Linked DNA regions of Homo sapiens: region 1 is linked to region 2. Evidence: promoter capture Hi-C in human tissues and cell types (Jung and others, 2019). All regions are on one chromosome and are shown on one strand. The core of a region is centred on a gene start or on the middle of the fragment in contact, and the rest is flanking DNA. Distances in the headings are between cores, read along the strand shown.

The links. Contacts are between HindIII fragments. The study calls those that stand out against the background at their distance.
Region 1: a contact is called between a fragment that was not itself captured here and the fragment with the promoter of CSPG4 in region 2, in 7 of the 25 tissues and cell types used here (aorta, dorsolateral prefrontal cortex, heart left ventricle and 4 more).

The regions. Positions count from the first base shown.
Region 1 is chr15:75,757,477-75,761,807 of GRCh38, reverse strand. It overlaps LOC101929408 (a long non-coding RNA gene), which reads right to left and starts at 3,266. Exons shown (of 4, transcript XR_932487.3): 1 at 3,181-3,266. The HindIII fragment of the contact is 5,413 bases long and covers 1-4,331 here.
Region 2 is chr15:75,710,617-75,714,462 of GRCh38, reverse strand. It overlaps CSPG4 (chondroitin sulfate proteoglycan 4), which reads left to right and starts at 1,615. Exons shown (of 10, transcript NM_001897.5): 1 at 1,615-1,795. The coding sequence starts at 1,708. The HindIII fragment of the contact is 20,321 bases long and covers 1-3,846 here.

The DNA of each region.
Region 1 (4,331 bases), core at 983-3,482, 47 kb before region 2:
CAGAGGGAAGGAGGTACTGACCGAGGTCTGAGATGACCGTGTCTACCAAGAGGCCCTCTGCCTCCCCCAGGGTGTGCAGACCCACACGAGAGCCTGGGCTGATGCCGCCCTGAAGAAGGTGGCACCCACTCTGACGGTCAGTGGGTCCAGCCTGGTGGGAGGATCATCCCACTTCAGGGGGCTGGGCAGCCTGGGGGGCCTAAGGGAGGTCATCTCTTCCAGCCTCCTGCCTTCAACCCCAGAACCCAGGTCTGAGCCCTGGGTCACCCAGGGCCACCCTGGACCCACCGGAATTCCTCCACCACCACTGGTCAAAGTTCTGCAGAGATCTGAGGACGAGGGTCAGCTGGGGGGTCAGGAGAGGATGAAGAGGGTCACAGCTCTACCAAAGTCTTGTCCAGTCATCCCCCATCTTCCCGAGGCTTCTTCCCCGCCCCCCCACTTCATCCCGCCACTTCACCCATCTTGTCGGTTGCCCCTGAAGTGCCCAGAACTCAAGGCTGGTTTTGTCCTCCAAGGCCTTGGTGTAGGGCTGGCCCAGGATCTGCAGCCAAACTTCATACAGCACCAGCTCTGCCTTCTCCCCTAGAGCGACAGGGGTGGAGGTGGCATCGGCCTGCATCCCCTCTCCTGGAAGCCCTGGAGTGGGACACACACCCAAGCTCTAATGCTCCATCCAGGGGTCAGCTGCTGTTGGTGTAAAGGCCAAATTTCTTGCTGCCTGCTTTTGTGTGGCCCACGCGCTAAGAATGGCTTTTACATGTTTAAATGGTTGAAAACATGGAAAGTAGAGTCGTATCTTGTGACACATGAGAATTACGTGAGATGCAAACTTCCATGTCCATAAAGAAAGGTTTCTGGGAATGTGGCCACGCTTATCTGTTGACATGTTGCTAGGGCTGCTTTCTTGCTACAGGGGAGGGTTTGAGTAGGTGGTGACAGAGACCCAGTGGCCTGCAGAGCCTTAAAGAGTTCCCATCCGGCCCTTTACAGAAAACGCTTGCTAACCCCTGCACTGATCCACCTAATGGAATACACTGCCCACTCCGTGAGTTGATCCTAGTAGGAAATGTTGCTGATAATTTAACAGCTGCTGCTTTTATGTTTTATTTTGTCCCTGCTCTGGTGGGAGACATGTAAGAAAATTCACTCCCTGGGAGGAGGTCATGGTGGGGCTTGTGGCCATCAACGGTGAAGCCTCTTTAAGAGGATGCGTGGGGAGCTCTACCATCTGCTGAGAGGGTTGTGAGGGGCCCTCTGTGTTGAGGAATGAAGAGGGAACGCTGCCTGTGTGCTGGGAGCTGGCTTTCTGGGGAGCAGAAGAGATGGTGGTTCGGGCCTGCGGAGGCAGAGGCCCAAACCAATCTGGTCTCTGGGGCTGCCGGCAGGGAGAGTAGTTGTGTAGGAGTGGGTGCAGGGGCAGAGCCTGAAGGAGGGCACCCCTGACTGCACCCCCAGGAGGCTGTGGTGGTGGGGGTGGGGCAGCACTGTAGGAGGACCAGCGCCTTCTGTGGCTGAGGGGTCCTTGGAGAGCAGCTCCAGGCAATGCGTAGCTGGAGGGGACTGATTTGACCCAGCGCTCTCCTAAGCCACAATGCCCGGCCTAATGTACTGTTTATTTAAAATTCTAAGGATCTTTAATAATTTTAATAAGGATCTTTAAATAATTTTCCATGGATCATATTTTTATTGCATTTTAAAATAATTTACAATTTGCTTTCACACATATTCTCCCTCATCTGATCCTCACAACTGCCCTGGGAAGGAGGTTGGAGACAGAGTTGGGGCCTGTTAGGAGACAAATTTACACAATGCATAAGAAAGCTCACTGTGAGCCGGGGTGAAGAAGGGAGGCTTGGAGAATCATGAATGCAGTATCTATGTCTATATTCCCAGCCCAACCACAAAGCCTGAAATTCATTTAGGTATTTAAGAAATAGCTGCTGAATTATTGCCTAGGGGTGCTCAGCTCAAGAAGCAGGGTTGAGACTAACAATCAAGCTTCCTGACTCCTAGCCCAATACTTTTCCAAACACACCACCTATTTTTCTGTATCGGATAGAAAGTATAGTGCTTAAGTTGTACATAATGTTAACTCACTTTCAATACAGGCCAATCATGATTGACTATCAGTAGCTTTTGTGACAAACTTAGTAAACTAGGAAGTTGAACCTTTCAGAGTTCCCCTTCTCATGTCATATGCTATTTCTGTTTTGAAATAAAAATCCTTCCAAATGAAACTTTATCCATCAAAATGACAAGAGAAGTGAAAATAGATACAAGAAGAAAATAAAACATTAATTTCAACATGGCTTTGTCTATTTTGCTTTAAAAGTATAACCACCAAGCCATTCTATTTTTAGGAAGACACATTCTTTTTGGAATGTTAAAAACTATGATAACTATTCTTAAGTCCTAAATGACCAGTATGGGTATTAGTAGATAACTGGACACAGTGCAAGGTCAGAAGGGTGACTGAGTGTGGCAGAAAGGGCAGTATCTCCAGCAACTGCAGATGGATAAATGACAATGAGTCCAGATAATGGATTATGATACAACCATTCAAATAATGCTTATGAGTACTTGATAACATAGGCAAAAGCTTAAGATACAATGTTTTAGACAGAAAAAAGGGAAGGTGGAAAAAAATAGATGGAAAGCATGACTTCAATCATGCATACTGATGCTTCCACTTTATTTTTATTTTTTGAGACAGGGTCCCACTCTGTTGCCCAGGCTGGAGTGCAGTGACATCATGATCTCGGCTCACTGCAGCCTCTACTTCCTGGGCTCAAGCAGTGCTCCCACCCTAGCCTCCTAACTACCTGGGACTACAGGCATGTGCCACCATGCCCAGCTAATTTTTTGTATTTTTAGTAGAGATGGGGTTTTGCCATGTTGCCCAGTCTGGTCTCAAACTCCTGAGCTCAAGGGATCTGCCTGCCTCGCCCTCCACAAGCCGGCCGGCCTGCTCTGTCTTACCCGCCCCCCCACTCCTGCCCCCCACTCCTGCCCCCGTCTCAGGAGCGGGATGGCGGTGGACTCTTCTCTACCAGACCTGCAGCCCTCACACCCGCACACACTGTGTTTGCGGAGAGGCCAGTGAAGACACCCTCCCCCCGTTTCCGGAGCCACTGTCGCCCCCTCATTCCCGCTCCAGCAGCCCATGCCTCGCTTCACCTCTGGTGCCTCACCATCAGGCCAAGAAGCCAGGGCCCGGGAATTTCTTTTTCCGGTGGCGCCAGGTCAACAGATTCGACGATCACGTGACTTGGACAAACGGCCTCTGGGAGGGCGGGGTCTGCTCGAGTGAGGCCGGAAGCGGACCACAGCCCGCAGGAGGTGCTGGAGGGCGAAATGCTGGCGTCTCCTCCTATGTCTTCCAGAATCCTTCCCTGGAAAAAAAGCAGCGCCCACCGCCAGTTTAACTGAGGACCGAATTAAGACATTAGGAAAGACAGTGGAAGTTATTTCATTTGTTTAACTTAAGGGGGTAGGATCCCGGGAGCCAGGGGGATTCAGGTCATTGCCATGTTTTCCACTGTTAAGCGAATAGCATTATACACAGCTGCGGGCTGCGGCAAAAGACATTTTAAAAACTATTGAAATCTACTACACATGCAGAAAATTGTACCTATTAGAAATATAAAGCTTAATAAGTGTTCATTAACTGTAGACCTCACATAACCAGCACCCAGATAAGGAAATAACCAGATAACTTCTTCAAGTGCATGGGTGTTTTATTTCATTTTGATGAATTGTGTAGGTGCCTAGCAAAAAGGGCTGTCATAATTAACATGCTCAGGAAAACTCCCTACAATTTCAACATCAATAGATGCTTATTTTTTGCCAGTCTGATGGGGGAAAAAATCCGTTGCTTAGATTGCAGTGGTAGTCTGCTTACTGGTAGCTCTGAGCTAATGGGTTGTCTAAAACAACTAAGTTTCCGACATTGACTTGAAGAGGCAAAAACAAAAAGACAAAACAACAACAAAAATACATTAGAGAATAGACTAATAACCAGAGAAGAAATTGAATACAGTTGTCCCTTAGAAACCTCAGGATATTGGTTCCAGGACCCCAGAGATACCAAAATTCACAGATGCTCTGATATAATATGGCATAGTATTTGCATATAACCTATGCACATCCTTCCGTAGACTTTAAATCACCTCTAGATTACTATAATACTTAATACAACGTAAATGCTTTGTAAATAGCTGTATGAAGTATTTTTAAATTTGTTTTTTTATTTTACTTTTTCCAAATATTTTTGATGCACAGTTGGTCAAATCCAAGGATCCAGAACCCGAGGATACAGAGGGCTGACC
Region 2 (3,846 bases), core at 366-2,865:
ATTTATTGTACACCTACTGTATGCAGCAGCCTCTGGAGGAGAAAGTTCAAGCTTTACAACAAGGGAGGTGATATGTGTAAAGCTGTATGTAAACCATGAATCACAGGGAATGTGCAGGATGACAGAGACGGAGGAGAAAGGATAAGCATTTATTGAGCACCTACCGTATGCCAGGCCCTGGGCTAGGGACTTGAGGTACATTAAAGCATTTAATCCTCATTAACCCAATTTTACAAATGAGGAAACTGCCACAGAGAGGTGAGGGGACTTGTTCAAGGTTTGACAACCAAGTAAGGGAGCTGGGATTTGAACCCAGGTCTCTCTGGTTTCAAGACCAATACTCATAACCCCCACATGGACCAGGCACCATCACACCTGAGCACTGCACTTAGGGTCAAAGACCTGGCCCCACATCTCAGCAGCTATGTAGACTAGCTCCAGTCCCTTAATCTCTCTCAGCCTCAGTTTCTTCATCTGCAAAACAGGTCTCAGTTTCGTTGCAAAGTATGAAGTGCTGGGCTGTTACTGGTCAAAGGGAAGAGCTGGGAAGAGGGTGCAAGGTGGGGTTGGGCTGGAGATGGGCTGGAGCAGATAGATGGAGGGACCTGAATGGAGGAAGTAAACCAAGGCCCGGTAACATTGGGACTGGACAGAGAACACGCAGATCCTCTAGGCACCGGAAGCTAAGTAACATTGCCCTTTCTCCTCCTGTTTGGGACTAGGCTGATGTTGCTGCCTGGAAGGGAGCCAGCAGAAGGGCCCCAGCCTGAAGCTGTTAGGTAGAAGCCAAATCCAGGGCCAGATTTCCAGGAGGCAGCCTCGGGAAGTTGAAACACCCGGATTCAGGGGTCAGGAGGCCTGGGCTTCTGGCACCAAACGGCCAGGGACCTACTTTCCACCTGGAGTCTTGTAAGAGCCACTTTCAGCTTGAGCTGCACTTTCGTCCTCCATGAAATGGGGGAGGGGATGCTCCTCACCCACCTTGCAAGGTTATTTTGAGGCAAATGTCATGGCGGGACTGAGAATTCTTCTGCCCTGCGAGGAAATCCAGACATCTCTCCCTTACAGACAGGGAGACTGAGGTGAGGCCCTTCCAGGCAGAGAAGGTCACTGTTGCAGCCATGGGCAGTGCCCCACAGGACCTCGGGTGGTGCCTCTGGAGTCTGGAGAAGTTCCTAGGGGACCTCCGAGGCAAAGCAGCCCAAAAGCCGCCTGTGAGGGTGGCTGGTGTCTGTCCTTCCTCCTAAGGCTGGAGTGTGCCTGTGGAGGGGTCTCCTGAACTCCCGCAAAGGCAGAAAGGAGGGAAGTAGGGGCTGGGACAGTTCATGCCTCCTCCCTGAGGGGGTCTCCCGGGCTCGGCTCTTGGGGCCAGAGTTCAGGGTGTCTGGGCCTCTCTATGACTTTGTTCTAAGTCTTTAGGGTGGGGCTGGGGTCTGGCCCAGCTGCAAGGGCCCCCTCACCCCTGCCCCAGAGAGGAACAGCCCCGCACGGGCCCTTTAAGAAGGTTGAGGGTGGGGGCAGGTGGGGGAGTCCAAGCCTGAAACCCGAGCGGGCGCGCGGGTCTGCGCCTGCCCCGCCCCCGGAGTTAAGTGCGCGGACACCCGGAGCCGGCCCGCGCCCAGGAGCAGAGCCGCGCTCGCTCCACTCAGCTCCCAGCTCCCAGGACTCCGCTGGCTCCTCGCAAGTCCTGCCGCCCAGCCCGCCGGGATGCAGTCCGGGCCGCGGCCCCCACTTCCAGCCCCCGGCCTGGCCTTGGCTTTGACCCTGACTATGTTGGCCAGACTTGCATCCGCGGGTGAGTGAGGGGCCTGAGACCCCGACCCAGCCTGGCGGAACTAGAGGGGTTCCTCCGGGAGGGAAAAGGGACAGGAGGAGCCAGAAGTGGCCCCCAGATCGGGAGTCAAGCAGGCTGCGCTTCTCCCACCACTAGCTGGGGTCGCCAGGGGTTCAATCCTGGGGCGGACACGGGACCCCGCTATCTCAGGTTATGGGGTTTCTAGCTAGCCAAGGCTGTCCAGTTAGGGGCGGGAGCAGGCGCCCCAGGCATGGATTGCCTAGGGCGTGGCTTTGCCCGTTTGGATTGTCTGAGACACCAGTGGGGCCACCCCAATGCTGGCCGAGCTTTGTTTGCCAGGCAAGTTTGGGGTGAGTATGTTGGGGTCCAAAGGGACCCGGCGACAGTGAGAAGTGGGTCCTCCAGCTTCAGATGCCCTGGGCCAGGAATGGGGAGTGCTACAAGGTGGGAAACGAGGAATGAGCCACCCTGCCCTCCCCTGTGAGGAGCACCCCCACACCCCTCCAGCTGCCCCCCAGCTCTGCCCCTTCTTTCCTCCCCTTGCTTCCTTGCAGATCCGTCTATCTGCCACCTCCCCTCTTCATTCTCTCCTCTCCCTCCTCCTGTTGGTGACAGGCAGGACCCCCCACCCACTACCCACTCTCAGCCTCCTAGAGGGAGAGCTGGTGCCCCTCAGCGGGGCTTGTCCTACAGATAGCTCTGGACCACCCCCTGCCACACCTCCTCATCCCAGCACTGATGCCTGACCCAGCAGAGGCTGAATGGAAGTTCGCTTTCCGAGAAGTGCTGGGATATATCCCCTCTCTGTCCCGATGCCAGAAACCCCAACATGACAGCATTCTTCCTTCAGCGAAGGCAGCTCTAGTTATGCCATAAGAACTGTGGCCTTAGGGCCCATCCATCATCACTACCCACGTGTGATTCAGTGCTTCAGCTACACCTTCGAGATCATTCCCAAGAGCAACATGGAGCAAAGGCAGGGCCTGAGCCTCCTTCACAAGGGCCCAGGCCACACCCTTCTCTCCTTCAGATGGAGAAGCCAGCTCTAAAAGAGGGCATCACATGGTTCCCAGAAGGGAAGTGAGTCAAGGGAGGACCCCCGCGGGGTGAATCAGGGCTGGATCTCCAGGCTCCCTGTTCCTGCAGGGACCAGATCCCCTAAGATCTCAGGGCCTGAGGGATGGGCTGGGCCGCCAGGGAGATGGGAAGGGAGCATCCAAGGTGACCAGGGTGGTCAGCTCATTCAGGCCCCAGCCTCCAGCCAAGGAGGGATTCCAGTACCCCCACCTCCTTGGGCTTCAACTGAGAGCCATTCTCAAATACCTTCTTAGCCCTGACAGCATGCAGGCATGGTGCTAGGCTCGCAGGGGCACGGGAAATTGAGAGGCTGAACTGAGACTCATTCAGGAGGCAGAAAGGCAAATTAAATCTCAAACAGCAAAAATCTGGATGAAAAGTACAGAGGGGAGAAAAGCAGGGGCAAGCTGGGGCAGGACACAGGGTGGGCCTCAAACCAAGCCTTGGTGGATGGGAAGGGAGTCAGTCCTCCAGGCAGGGGCGCTGACTCAGAGGCACCAAGGTGGGCGTAAGCAGAGGGGTGTTGAGACAGGAAGGCCAGCAGCCTGGCTGGGAGGCGTATTTCGAGCACAGGCCAGGGAGAACCACTGGGCTGGGGCACAGAAGCCTTAAATGGCAAAATGAAGCCCACGGCCTTATGCCCTGTTGGCAAAGGAGATGCCACAAGGGTTTTAGGGCAAGAGAGCAGCATGGTGCTGTGGGGTTTTATAAAGTTACACCATCCCCTGCCTTTAGGAGGACTCGGAAATGAGGAGGGGCTGTGAGAGCTCCCGTCCAGCAACCCATCTCTGTCACCACTCCTGGTCCAGCTGCCTGCCCTGATTTCTGCAGTAGGGGCAGCCCCTGCCTGAGGAAGGCGTCCCTCCCACCCCTCCTGGATGCCCCTGGCTGCAAAGGCCCTCGTCCTCCCGTATCCGAATGAGGCGTGCTGGGAGGCTCTCCCTCTACTCATCAACATTTGAGGCATCCAGGTC